Regions from separate parts of the Homo sapiens genome. Here all the other regions are linked to region 2. Evidence: promoter capture Hi-C in 16 types of primary human blood cells and fetal thymus (Javierre and others, 2016). All regions are on one chromosome and are shown on one strand. Each heading gives the region's core, a stretch centred on a gene start or on the middle of the fragment in contact. The rest is flanking DNA. Distances are from core to core; before and after follow the strand shown. Region 1 has its middle 92 kb from the start of RFC3. Region 2 holds the start of STARD13 (StAR related lipid transfer domain containing 13). Region 3 has its middle 74 kb from the start of RFC3.

Evidence for each region. Contacts are between HindIII fragments. The CHiCAGO score rates a contact against its expected background, and 5 or more counts as called.
Region 1: a fragment that was not itself captured here is called in contact with the fragment with the promoter of STARD13 in region 2 in 5 of 17 cell types (endothelial precursors, M1 macrophages, M2 macrophages and 2 more); the score reaches 11.1 in endothelial precursors.
Region 3: a contact is called between a fragment that was not itself captured here and the fragment with the promoter of STARD13 in region 2, in 2 of 17 cell types (activated CD4 T cells and non-activated CD4 T cells). The highest score is 5.8, in activated CD4 T cells.

What each region holds. Positions count from the first base shown.
Region 1 is chr13:33,723,690-33,728,366 of GRCh38, forward strand. No RefSeq gene overlaps it. Among named protein-coding and RNA genes, the nearest start is that of RFC3, 92 kb to the right of the region's middle. RefSeq lists a silencer at 256-425. The HindIII fragment of the contact is 2,716 bases long and covers 143-2,858 here.
Region 2 is chr13:33,283,168-33,287,803 of GRCh38, forward strand. STARD13 (StAR related lipid transfer domain containing 13) reads right to left here and starts at 2,588. Exons shown (of 14, transcript NM_178006.4): 1 at 2,303-2,588. The coding sequence starts at 2,471. RefSeq lists enhancers at 2,691-2,750, 2,761-2,890. The HindIII fragment of the contact is 3,531 bases long and covers 1-3,412 here.
Region 3 is chr13:33,741,434-33,745,970 of GRCh38, forward strand. No RefSeq gene overlaps it. Among named protein-coding and RNA genes, the nearest start is that of RFC3, 74 kb to the right of the region's middle. The HindIII fragment of the contact is 1,374 bases long and covers 1,493-2,866 here.

The DNA of each region.
Region 1 (4,677 bases), core at 251-2,750, 440 kb after region 2:
TTATAAATGAAATCCTCTCTGAAGATAGGAAGATGGGCTAGATAATGTTTTATCTCTTCTAGCCCTAACTTTCCATGCTCCTATAATTTAGTAACAAAAGGAACCCATGCACTTTCTTTTTTTTTAAGACAGTTTCTCCAGAAGCTTCCATGTGTGGAGAAACTTACTCTCTTCCTCCTTCTTCTATTTATCTTTTCTTATCTGAAAGGAGGACTACACTGTAAACATCTACATATGCAAAACCCATGCCTTTGGTACACACCTACCACTTTCAGATCAAACCGACAGCCTAAGTGGCCAGGCTGGCAGCTGGTTTAGGATAAATACAACAGCACCACCTTGTGTTGCGTTTCTGGGAGAATTTACCACTTCAGCAGGACAAAGACTTGGGCCGGGATGGGTGGCTCAGGATACAGCAACTATTCCTTTACTTTCCCTGCTGGGAGCAAATGCTAGCCATTTCGAAAAACCTTTTTGTTTGTTATCAGCCTACAATTTTCTTCTATAAATTCTGTAATTTTTAAAATATAAAAGGTAGCTGAGAAATGGAAATGCAGAAATAAACATATATTAATAAAAGCCTGGGTAAGCACAGTGCTATAGTAAATATTGTAGAGAAAAAGTTAATGTCAGCTTTTATTGCAAAAGACTTGATAGTAAATGTACATTTAATGCTATTGTGATTTAACACTTTCTCTAAAGATTCTCCCATATTTGGGGAGGTAGCTTTTAAACTATGTATTTGCCTATTAAGGGAAGAAAAGAATGTTTCACTTTCTCATAACCATTCTGGGTGAGCCTGGATAAAGTCTTTGTTTTCCCCAAGTATAGTTGTAGATTCACATATATAAATATATATAGATATATATGAATATATATATAATATTCATATTATACCTTGTATTCCCCAAGCATGGTTGTAGATTCATATACTATATGTGTACATATATAATATACATATGCACATATATATTTGCATCTTTGCTGTGGAGCAAGCTAAAAATTTAATATGTGAATATCAACATGGGACTGAAAGACCATAAAGACCAGAAAATCGACATATTTGCTAAACAAATATGTCAAATGTCTGATATTTTCAACAGAAAGAACATGACTAATTAAGGAAGATTATTTCCAGTTGTAATTTGAAATGTCAAGATTAGTGTAACAAATCAGCAATTCTTTGTCTCTGAAATCATCTGGAAAATTGAGCTAAGGCCTTACAAGCTACACATTATTATGGGAAGAGAAGTTACAGGATTAGAAAGTAGCAAACCAGGCATTCGGGGCCTTGCTGGGGCTGGCCATGCAGAAAAACTTACCCAGAAAATCCTGCAGAAAGCTCAGTAATGTTACTTTTAGTTGTAAAAGAGGATTTGGTCTTCAAAGTTTATTTGCCATTGTTCACCCAGTCTTTAGCACGTATATTTACTGTGCTGAGCTAATAACTTTGAATTAGACTTTACAAATAAGAAGGAAAAATTATGTCTTAGTTCCTCATGTGCTTTCTTGTGGAAGGCCAGACAAGTAGCACATTTGATTAGGCAATATTTCTAAGTTTTGGATAATTTTTCTGATATTGTATTCTCCAATTAAATTGTAATCTAATTTATAAAAATACTAAATATATAGTTATGAAGGGTGCACTACAATTTTAAAGAATGTGGAATGTTCAGGTGTGAATCATGAACTTGGAGGGCTTCTAGTAAATACCAGTTGGCAAATACAATGTCATATCAATATGAAGAAAATGCTCTTCTTTTCTTCAAACAAACGCAATCTCAAAAACTCCCAAGGGCTATTCCATTTGTGTACTTATCAGTCACTTGACTGCTTTCCTAATCACTGTTTTCTAGTCCCAGTTCTGTGCACAAAGGAAAGTTCCACCCCGTTCCCCAACCCTGCACTCAGGATCACTCCCCATCAAATGGTGCCTACCTGGAGCAGAATGTTGATTTCACACTTGCTCCAAATGTTCTTCTTCCTTCCATTAGACTTTCACTTAAAATTTATTTTTTGGTAGAATTTGAGTTCCAGGGAGAGTATGGACTTAATTTCTAGTGGCTCTTAATTCTGTACTGCCACCCAGATGGCTTCCAGCTACATGGCTTTTTTGTCACAGGACAAAGCAATGACTGTGGATAATGAAAAAATAATAATTTTCTAGAATGGTGGAATAATTTTAGACACTATTAGTGTTTATTAATTGGGTTGTGTATTAGTCTGCTTGGGCTGCCACAGCAAAATACCCCAGACTGGGAGGCTTAAAGAACAAAAGTTTAGGCCGGGCAAGGTGGCTCACACCTGTAATCCCAGTAATTTGGGAGGTCAAGGCAGGTGGATCACCTGAGGTCAGGAGTTCGAGACCAGCCTGGCCGACATGGTGAAACCCTGTGTCTACTAATAATACAAAAAAATTAGCCAGGCGTGGTGGCTTACACCTGTAATCCCAGCTACTTGGGAGGCTGAGGCAGGAGAATCGCTTAAACTCGGGAGGTGGAGATTGCAGTGAACCAAGGTCGCGCCATTGCACTTCAGCCTGGTGACAGAGTGAGACCCTGTCTCTAAAAAAAAAAGAAAGAAAGAAAGAAAGAAAGAAAGAAAGAAAGAAAGAAAAGAACAGGACAGAAGTTTATTTTCTACAGGTTCTGGAGGATAGAAATCCAACATCCAGGTGCCAGTAGGGTTGGTTTCTGGTTGCAAATGGTCACCATCTTGCTATGTCCTTACATGGTCTTTTTTCTGTAAGCATGGAGAGACAGAGAGAACGCTGGTGTCTCTTCTTCTTATAAGGGCACCAGTCTTATCAGATTAGGACCCCACCCTTATGATTTCATTTAACCTTAATTACTTTGAAAAGCTTATGTCCATATATGGTCACCCTAGGGTTAGTGCTTCAACACATGGAATTTTAGAGGGGACACAATTTAGTCCCTAATAGATGGTAACATAACTTGAACCTGGGAGGTGGAGGTTGCAGTGAGCTGAGATTGCACCACTGCGTTCCAGCCTGGGTGACAGAGCGAGACTCTGTCAAAAAAAAAAAAAAAAATCACCGAAGTTGGATAACCACAAAATGGATGTAATAACACAGCCCTGTCCTAACTTGGTTCTGACAGTGTCACATAGGAAAAACGTTTTAGAGTTAGAATTGCAACCTCTTGCTTCCAAGTGCCTATTTTACGTTAACTACTATGTTTTATTTTCCCAAATCTTCAACATTATGCTTTTAGAGGCAATTTTCAGAACTAGGTTTTTTTTTCTTATTTATACGCTGAAGTGTTATATATGTGATAAACAAGAAGACAAAATGACAGAAAGGAATTAAAGTCAATATAATCACCCCTGTTAAGCCATTATGTGTTTCCATTAGAGCTTTTCACACTAGCTCCATAGTCTAAGTTATTTCACTTCTCTGAGACCTGGCTCTTCCCTTGAAAATATATGATTAATAGTCCCCATCTTAAACAGTTGACCTGAGGAGTAAATGAGAATATACATATAAAAGGTTCCATGAGGACACAGCAGTAAGTTTGCCATTTGCAAGTTTTTAGAACATAGCAGACTTCTAACAGAAACAATGTTATCCTCTGTCTTACTAAGTTTTATAGTATGATTTTCCATTGCCTGAAATCTCTAATTCTGTAAACCATCCGAACTATATTTAAGTAAAGTAGTTCACTTGTGCATTTTGATAGAGTTTGATGTTTGCTTCTTCTATTTTGAGGAGGAACATGCCACCCACTCTTGGATGAAGTGGTGATTTAACTATAACTATAATACAGATATCTGACTCAACAACTGGCTGGAGTTCTGAAAGTAAAACCATGCAAATCAAGGAGATGGTAGCCAGCCTTAAATTCTCTATTGCCTCATAGTAAATTTATCTATAACATCCTTTGGAATGCTCAGATCGCTTCTAGTTATATCAAGATCATCAGTAAGTCTGCTCAAGAAAAGCCAACCTCCTCTTTCTTGGTCAAAAGGTGGGTTTAAACTTTTTAAATTTCGGTATCTAAAGGCAATTTTTAAAAAAGTTTTCAATGTTTTTGAAAGATTGAACTTTCCAGATTTAAATATTTTTTCATACTCTTAACCAAGTTGTAAAGTTCTGAGCCTGTGGAGGGGTTGGGGGTTGAAGGATAGAGTTTTCATATACCCATATGAAATGCACATACATAATCACATGCCACAAACCACAATCACTGTTAGAACTGTACAGTGTGACCTTGATAGGTACGGGCCCTGCTGGCACAGGACTTACAGATTGGTGGGGCAGAAAAATATTAAAAACTACACAAATGGCCAGATGGATACAAATATGATAAGAGCCATGAAGGAAAACATTTAGTTGAAAGCACTGCAATACAAGTGAGTCCAATATATGTCAAGTACAACACAAAGCATCTTCTTTGCATGGGTTTTACTACTTTCTAGCACATTCTTGCAGTGTTCTTAGGTAGGCAGCAATGCTGTAAGACACAGTGAGGTGAAAATTAGGAGAAAGTAGTGACAGAATATTTTTCCTCTTAATGTAAATTGTGAAGGAAAAAAATTCCTCTACAAAAATTCCCGTAGTCTAAACTCCACATTTTCAAAAGTCCTTAGAGCCATGGCAAGTTTCCATGGAGCACAGATTGAACTCTCTCATGTAGAAGAATAACCTACTTGTTTTCA
Region 2 (4,636 bases), core at 1,338-3,837:
GAGTGACCAATTCTGGTCCTATAATATAGTGTATTGCTGTATCCTGAGTAGAAAAGTCTAAAAAGTCTCTAGTATATTATATAATCTGAAACTCAATCATAGGTTCAGTACTTTAGCACTCATTATAAAAACTAAAAAATAGTCTAGTGTATTGCAGAGCATGGACTGTCAAGCTGTATTCAAGTATCAGTTCCTACTGGGTGACCTTGGATAAGATGCTTGAAATCTGTGTGCCTCTGTTTTCTCATCTGTAAAATGGGCATAATAAAAAAAATTAACTACAATGATTTTGGTATGCTGTAACTGTTTAATCCACATTCTCTGAAATTACAGTAAACCAATCTTCTAATACAATAAACTCAATAAAATTGTTTCACATTGCTTTCTCATTGTCTTACTAAAGAGTTGTATGATGTTAACACATAATGATTTCTGAATCACAAGACTGTTGGAAATCTTTATTGCTTCCCTGTGATCTTAACTGTCAGTTTTAAGTGTTAGGCATTCATTGACTTCAAACACTCCATTGCCCAGTATAAAAAAGAGGGAATTCTCAAATTACCTAATTAGACAAAAATGAAACATAAACTGAGGGTGCCCATATGTCTGTGTGACAGGGCACGTTCAGTGATAGTGCATGTGTTCACAACTTCAAATCTTGAATGGAAAAATAACCCTCATTCCAAAAAGAACATAAATAATATTTAAATAAAATAAATTATTGTAAATACATCTAAGGAGGTCTGCAAAGCAATTTCAGCTAGTTCTCTGCAATATTTCTCATATGATATGCATGCTGAGGAACATTTATATCTTGTAGATGATAGCGCATCATTAAGCCTCGGTGTTCATAAAGATGATGGCATTTGGAAAGGCACCATTGTCAGAAATTTCTAAAACCAAAGTGGAGCTGGTTTTTATTCTAAGCCTAAAGTATTTTTAAATCTAGCCACAGGGAAATAATTACTTTTGTTTCTATTCAATCAAGACCTGGACACAGAGTTTATGCAATGACATAATATCCTTCCTGAAATCAGACCAGCATGTAGGAAGGACCAGCATCCTTCACACATAACTAGTTCCTGAACCTTTACAAACAAATCCTAATTTCCAAGGAAACAATCTCATCAAATGCTGCCCGCTAGAATACATATTGTTCTTTCTGGAAACATTACAATAAGATTTTCATGATTACAAACCCCAACTTCCTCTTTAATATTCAATATAATCTTAAACTCATTTATTTAAGTGGAAACTGTATTTTTATAATGGCTCTAAAAATTCCTGGTTAACTTATTTAGCACCAATATAATAATTTCTTTTTTTGTTGTGTAGGAGGAGGGTGATCATTAACTGACTGTCAACGTGTGTTAGGGGCTTCTTAGGAACGGCTCTAAAAATTCCTGGTTAACTTATTTAGCACCAATATAATAATTTCTTTTTTGTAGTCTAGGAGGAGGGTGATCATTAACTGACTGTAAACGTGTGTGTTAGGGGCTTCTTAGGAATGTTCGTCTTTCTGCTTTCTACTGATATACCCTATAAGGAGCATGTTTTAAATTTTTTTTTTTTTTGAGACTGGTAAATTTTAGTAATGTCCAGACTTCCAGGCTGGTATTTTGAGGGGCTGGGAATAAAAAGAATATCAAGCAGCTTATAATCAATATTCTCTTCTCTTTGCATTAGGAAGCTGGAGTTTTGTGTGCAGGTTACGGGATTTGTTTTGAGATGAACGAACACCTTAATTCTCTACCAGGAAAACAATATTAACACATCTGTGGCAACTGCTGACATAAACATACAAACAGGAAGAGAATGCGATTCTAGTGCTTAGCCTGGTGGCCTTTAGAACAGAATTCTTGCTTTCCTCCTCTTCACTAAGGATATTCGAAATACTCTGGGCAGGGTGGACATTAGTCCCTCGCCTCCTCCCTAATGAAATAAACAAGTGTCCACATTTTAAATGTGACGGAGTGTGAGGAAACTGCAGAAAAGCTCCTAAGATACACACTGAGTAACAGTTCTCATCTGTTCTGTAGACACACGTCAGTTTGGGAATTTATGATTCACTGTCCCACCGTGAAGTTTTTTGTGCACTTTATGTTGAGCTATGTGGCAGCTAAGGACTGTCCTGTTTGCTGAAAACTGCAGCCTAAAGTTATTTTTCAAAGTTACGGGTAGTGTGGCATAGAAATCCATATGTTATAAAGTGGAAACAAACAAACAAAAAAAACTGGGTTAGCATGAAATAGAGCCAACAGAAATCAGAATGAGCAACAGCCTTCCACTGCCGGCCACTCACCTTGTTGAATTTTAGTCACTAGCTGATGGCGTGCTAGAATCCGGCTCATCCTGTAAGGAGAGCGTCTTGTAGTCTGATCAAATCGCAAGTACATCTCCTGGCCCTCAGGTGTCATGGAATTTAGGTAGTAGCAGCCTGAGGCTGGGGTCCTGGGCACCTGACTGAACATCTCGGCAGATTTCCTATTGCCACCTCAGTCTGCCTGTGGCTGTTGCCGTCTGTCTCCAGTCTCAGTCAAAGAGCAAGGCACCCAGCCCAGGACAGCTCAACAGACCCAGCGATTTTTAAAAAGAAAGAGGAGTGCCAAAGCCACAACTCAGAATTCCAACCCCCGGGGCCCTCACGTGACCTCGGGAACCAATGAGAGGAAGAGAGGAAAATGGGAACGTTTGCAGTCAGCCCTAAGCCCCGACCAGAGGCAGTTCCAGCCGCCAGGGTCCCTCACACAACGCTGAAAGCAAAATACACGTATTTGACGTGCCTCAGAGCTGACGAAGCACCCAAAAGCAGCCCTCACTAAAGGAGTCGAAAGAAAAAGAGAGAGGGAAGGGCAAAACAAGTAGAAGACAAACAAGTCCAGGGCTCAGGAAACTTTTCAGCCTGTCAAAGTTAGAGAAAGCTCCTTCGCTTTCTACAGGGCAGCAGCAGCCAGGTAAAAGATGGACCTGATAAATCTCTTAAATTTAAAAAACACAACACAACAAAAAAAAACTACTTCAAACAAGCATCAACAGCTGAGCGTAAGCCACCACCTTCATTATCAAGAAACAACTCAAATAAAAACTTTTCCAGTGAAAAATAAACTTCAAGGGCTTTAACACCAGGAGTGAATACACCACAGATCCTGACCCTCACGTGATGGGAATTGGAGGGCTCTTACAGATAAGACTCAGAGAGGCAAAGTACACACGCGTTACGTATTAAGCATCCTTTCCTCTTTGATTTCTCTACTTCCCCAATTTTTAATCACCTAGAGGTAAAATACTTAGAAGGTGCCTATCACATTTAAGACACTGAATCATTTAAGACAAGAATCACTGCAGAAGTTGCAAAGGTACTTCAAAGATACTGTCATCAACCTGCTAAGGACCCATTGAGAAGTTATACAAAAGCTTCTAACATGAGGCCATATATATGTCTCAAAAAGGACGCAAACACAATGCTAGGTGAGCAATATTATTTTTGACTGGGGTGATGATTGCAAGCCAGATAGAGAAAGAGACATTTGGATAGGCTTTTTAAAATGGGGGGAATTCTGATAGGCAGAGGCTGGGGAGGGCTTTGCAAGAGACTGTAGGTACCCATGTGTGCAGATCCAGAACCAGAGTATATGGTTTAAGCAAACTGCTAGTAATTCAGTTTGGCCATATCTGAGTGTGTGTGTATATATATACGTGTATATATATATGTGTGTATATATATGTGTATATATGTGTGTATATATATACATACACACACTGAGTGACATATATGTATATGTCATTATAATTTTCCCTGTTTTTCTTCTTTAACATTGTTTGATGTGAAGAGAAAAAGTCCACAGAAAACATGTTATCAAATTCTGAGCCTGGGGCTGAAAGAATAAAGTTCTTTGATACAAAAAGTATATGACCAAGTTGCTTCTACATTTGGCTGACGGAAACATAGCCTGGCTGGGAATTTATAGTCTAATAATGAGAAATTATTTCTACATTATTTCCAAATTAAAAGTTTAACAGGATTTAAATTAGGACTTTGATTCTTCTTACTCTGGCTCTCCGAGGCCCATAAGCCTTAACAACTTTCCCTGAGGGAATTGTTGCTAGCCTGATTCTGAGAAGCAGCTCGTCTTGTATAACTGTCCCGCTATGAGAATAAACAAGTTAAGCACGATCTCTGCAGCCCAGCATGTGACAATTGCCTACTACCTCACGTAGTTGGTAATTGTCAGCCTCTTCGGGTGGTTACACAAGAGTCATCATGTCTTTGTTTTCAGGTTGGCTTCATGGCAGGAAGGGAAAGAAAGATCTATGGGGCCATACTGTGCACTTTCCATTCTTATTTAGGATTTGAGCAGCAGTTTTTCTGTTCCATAGCATCGTCTGTGGAAGGTGAAAGGGATCTGAGACCTAAGGAACTGCTCGGCAGAAGCTCGAATGGAGAAAGGTCGAGCACCATATTGCAAAGTTGGCTGCCTGGAAGGTTCATGAGCCCAGCTCAGTCCGCACCGGTGGCCGTCCAATTAAGGTGCTTGCATCAGCTGCTTTGTGCACGTGCTTTCGGCTTGATGGTCCAACACTGGGAGCATCTGTGTCATAACTTTTTGTTCAAGGCAGACACTTGGTGGTTATCACT
Region 3 (4,537 bases), core at 930-3,429, 460 kb after region 2:
CATACCAGGTTAGGAGCCCCCCATACTCCAGGATAATCTCATCTTGGTTTCACTAATTACATCTGCAACAACCTTGTTTCCAAATAAGGTCACATTTTGATGTGGGTTAGAACCCCAACACATGAATTTGGAAAGGGCATATAATTCAACTCATAACAGATAGGAACCATTCCTGATACCTCCTTCTTCCCTGCTCTCTCAGGTCTGGTCACCAACACAGCCTATTTTATCTCTGAATCACTTTTGGAATCTACTGTGTTTCTCCATCTATGGCATCACTTCAGTAGTCCAAACTGTCATGATATCTTGTCTTAATTACTTCAATAGCCTCCTAATTGGCCTTCCTGTTTCCAGTTTTGCCGTATTCCAGTCTCTCCTCCATGCTACATAAAAACAGATGTTTAAAAAAGCAAATCTGATCACGTCACCTTTCTTACATCTCTTAGTGGGCTTGTGTGAGGCTTGTGTGGGTCCTCCCAGCTTTGTCAGCTTCATTTCCTGTCTTACTCCTTCTCTTCACCTAGCCACACAGATTCTTCTCTCACTTTCTCCAATAAACTAAACTGAAAGCCACCCCAGGGCCCTTGCATGTGCTGCTCACCTCCAGGAAGACTCATCTCTTCTTCCTAAGTTGGATAACTCCTTCTCACCCTTTTGACTTTGGCTTAGATGTCACTTCCTCAGGGAAGCCATTCTGGCATCCCACAACACATTGAGTTGCCATTAATTAATTTCATGGCACATGGTAAGCCATCTTTTTTAGTACTTATCAAAAACTTAATCAATTAATTTCCTAGTATTGTTTTAGTTAATGCTATAGTTTGGATATTTGACCCTTCAAACCTCAGATTGAAATATAATCCTCAATGTTGGAGGTGAGGCCTAATGGGAAGTTTTTGCGTCACAGGGTCAGATCCCTCATGAATGGCTTGGTGCCATCTTCAAGGTAATGAGTAAGTTTCGGCTCTATTAGTTCCCATGAGAGCTTGTTATTAAAAAGAGACTACCTTCTTCCTGTCCCTGTGCTTCCTCTCTCACCAGGTGATCTCTGCACTCACTTCCCACCATAAGTGGAGGCAGTCTGAGGCCCCCACCAGATGCAGATGCTGGCGCCATGCTTCTTGTACAGCCTGCAGAACCATGAGGCAAATAAATCCCTTTTCTTTGCAAATTACCCAGCCTCAGGTATTCCTTTATAGAAACACATGCAGACTAAGACAATCTCATTAAATTGGTTAGTTGGAGATAAAGTAAAATCAGTGGCTGGATTAGCTCAGCACGTGTGCTCATTGGATTGTTCTGTAATTGATCACATGTGTAAATCCAAATCTGTTAGTGGACTTACGCTTTTTAATATAGCCTGACAGCATTTCCAAGTTAGTTAATTCACACAGTTATTCAACGTATGTTTATCAATCCCCTGCTTTGTGAGAGCACTATCCTGGGCATTGAAGAGAGAACAGTGATTAGGATTAGACCCCTGCCCTCATGAAGCTTACATTCTAGTGGGTATGATAGACAAACAATAAATGGGTATAGAATAGAATCAGGTAGAGATAAATTCTATGAAATATATTTTTGAAAAGCAGGGGAAGAGGAAAAGGGAGGCAGGGAGTGTTATCTTAAACAGTGGTGGTCAGAAAGAGCCTCTGAAGAGGTGAGATCTGAATTGAGTTCTAAATCCAACCAAGAACATCTAGAGGGAAGAGGAACTGGACAAAGAAAATGAGATGGGAGTGCTTGAAGGCAGCAAGGACCTAAAGTGGCTGAGAGGGAGACAGAGGAGTGTTAGGAGTTAGGATGGAGGCTGAGGGCCAAGTAACTCAGGCCCTTGTAGTCCAGTTTAAAGCTGGATTTTATTCTAACTGTGGTGAGAAGCCCATGGAAGTATTGAGAAGGGCTTGGTGCATTTCTAGGCTATGTTGGCTGCCCTGTAGCAAAGAGACTGAGAGGGAGCAAGTGTGGAAGCCAGCCAGCTGGTTGAATGATTTTACAGGTACAAATATGAGGGGTGAGAGTGGCTATCCACCTTTTTGCAGGCTAACAAATCAGAAATCTGAGGGCTGACTCTTCTCTGCAATTTGTTCTGCATACTGCTGGTCACCCAAGTTTTACCCACAAATGCCACAAGCCACCCAGGCTGAAATGGCTCCTCTCCAGCCTCTAGCCTTCCCAGGTGGCTCAGCCCAGTAACTCACTCAGGACGCCCCATCCCTTTCCCTTGCAGGTGTTACAGCCCCACATAGAGTAGTCTCCACACTGACAGTGAACTCGGCCTCCACCCATTCATCAGTGTGTGTAGAGTCCCAGGTGAGGCCCTGGGATGCCTGGGGCTTGCAATGGCTCAGCTCAACCAGGAAGAAGAAAGCTGGAGAACCTGTTATGTTGTGAGCTCTCAGTGGGAAGAGAAGGGGGAAAGGGAGAGATAAGAGATGTTGCTTTATTTGACTCTTTGTAAACAGCCTCCAGCAGAGTAATGGCTCCATAAATGTTTGCTGAGTGGGTAAAACAAGAAATGATGAACTCATGCAGGGTCCAGACCAGCCATATGGAAAATTCGGGGCTTCATTGTGAAACAGAGGGTGGTTTAGAGAAGGAGGATATGTGAACGAATGGTACTGCTCTCGCACACTGACATTGCCAGGGCAAGTATGTTTTGATGATTATGGATCTGATCTTTCACAATCAACAGACTTCCTGTCTGTCACCTCAGACTTTAGAAACAATGAGAATAAGCTAACATGTAACTGGGAGCTCTTCATGAGAACTGAAAGAGACAACTGGAGCTGTGGTGACAGAGTGGGGCGAGTTGGTGGAGAGGGCAAACTCATTCAGCCTCCCTCATTCCCCTGGCCTTCCAGGCAGAAGCTTCTTCCACCCTGCAGCAGAGGTTATTGCTAAGAGTCCTACAACTTGCCCCTGACTGGTTCCTAGAGAAACTTCTTCCTGCAGGTTTGGGTGCAGAGTGAGCTGTGGCCTTCCAGTTCCCTGCGTGTGCACTCAGGGTGCTTGGAGCATCCTTCAGAAAAGATGGGACCTTGGAAAGTCACTGATTCTTGCTGAGTTGCAACTTCCTCATCTATGTAGGGGAGAAAACTTAGTATCTTTTCTTTATCTCTCACAGTTCATGGCTGAGGCCCATAACAAAATACGGATTAGCAAGAGAAAAGCATAACACATTTATTTAATGCAAGTTTTAAGTGACATAGGCACCTTCAGTAATGAAAACTCAAAGACCCAGGGAAAAGTGTGGATTTTTATGGACAGTCATGCAGAAGTATGACTGGAGGCAAAAGGATATGATCAAGTGGTAATAAGCGGGGGGTACTTGGTAAGGCCTGCTTGTTCAGATTCCTCTTGGCCTCTCTGTGTGACATTCCTTCCCTCCAGCTATAGGACAAGACACCTGTCACATGAAAATCTTCAGGGGAGGAGGGTGGGAGTAGGTCAGAGGTAACCTTCCTAGGTTTTAAGGCCCACTTCAGGGGAGAGAGGGACAAGAGGAATTTCAGTTTCTATGTCCCACTGTAGGGGAGAAGGGGTGGGAGAAGGTCAGAGAGACTATCTTGCTTCTGAGGTTTTCTCAATTTCCTTCAGCATGCTTCACTCAGTATGTCAATATGCCACATTCTGAGGTGGCATTTTTTGCACCTCATCTTCTGTAGTGGGGCCTTTCCTCCACTTTTATTTACTTCACAGAATGATGAACATAGTGGAGGTGATGTGAACGGTAGTTACTATGCTGCTCAGCAAGAGGAAGTGGGGTAGAAGATGGAAGCAGCTTCAGGAGGATTCCAGGCAGGAAGTATATGGGATTAGAGCAGCTGGGTGGAGCAGGGAAGTCCTCCAGGGCAGGGGAGGGGCTACCACTTACAACCTCCAGTCGGAAAGACACAGCACAAAATGGATTCTTTCCAGATTTTTCTACTTGTAATTTTTTTTTAATGAGTACACAGCATTGCATTCCTGTAAAACTTTAATTTTGTTTAAAGAACAAATGCTGCCTACATTCCAGATACTGGTTCTTGCTTCCAGGAGAATACTTGAAATAGATCTTTTCATGAACAAGTGTGTTTGTGGCCAGTGCCCCCATTGGCAAGGCTGTTGAATTAAAAATCCTTAATTTTTTTTTTTTAATTTGTACTCTGTATGTTTACTGAATTACAGAAAGGTACATTCAGAACTTTTGTCTTCTTTCCAAGTGGGTGTCTCAGGAGTCAGCAGCTGCATAAATACACACACAGTTCAGTTAACTGAAATTGGGGATTAATGATGTGTGCTACACCTGCATTTTTAATCTTGCAAAAAAAAACCCATTAAGTGCAAGCATAGAGGATTACGATGAGCCACACACCTGCAGGGAACATGGTGACCTGACGACAGAAATGAGCATGTCTGCTCTGCTGCACAACCACAGGCCAGTCGTCTCCACAGGAGGAGAGTGTTTCAAAGATGCTGATGGGAGGGAGTCCATTGTTATCGTTTCACATAAAGGACAGTGGTAACTGAACATTAGAAAAGAAAAATTGCTGTTCCA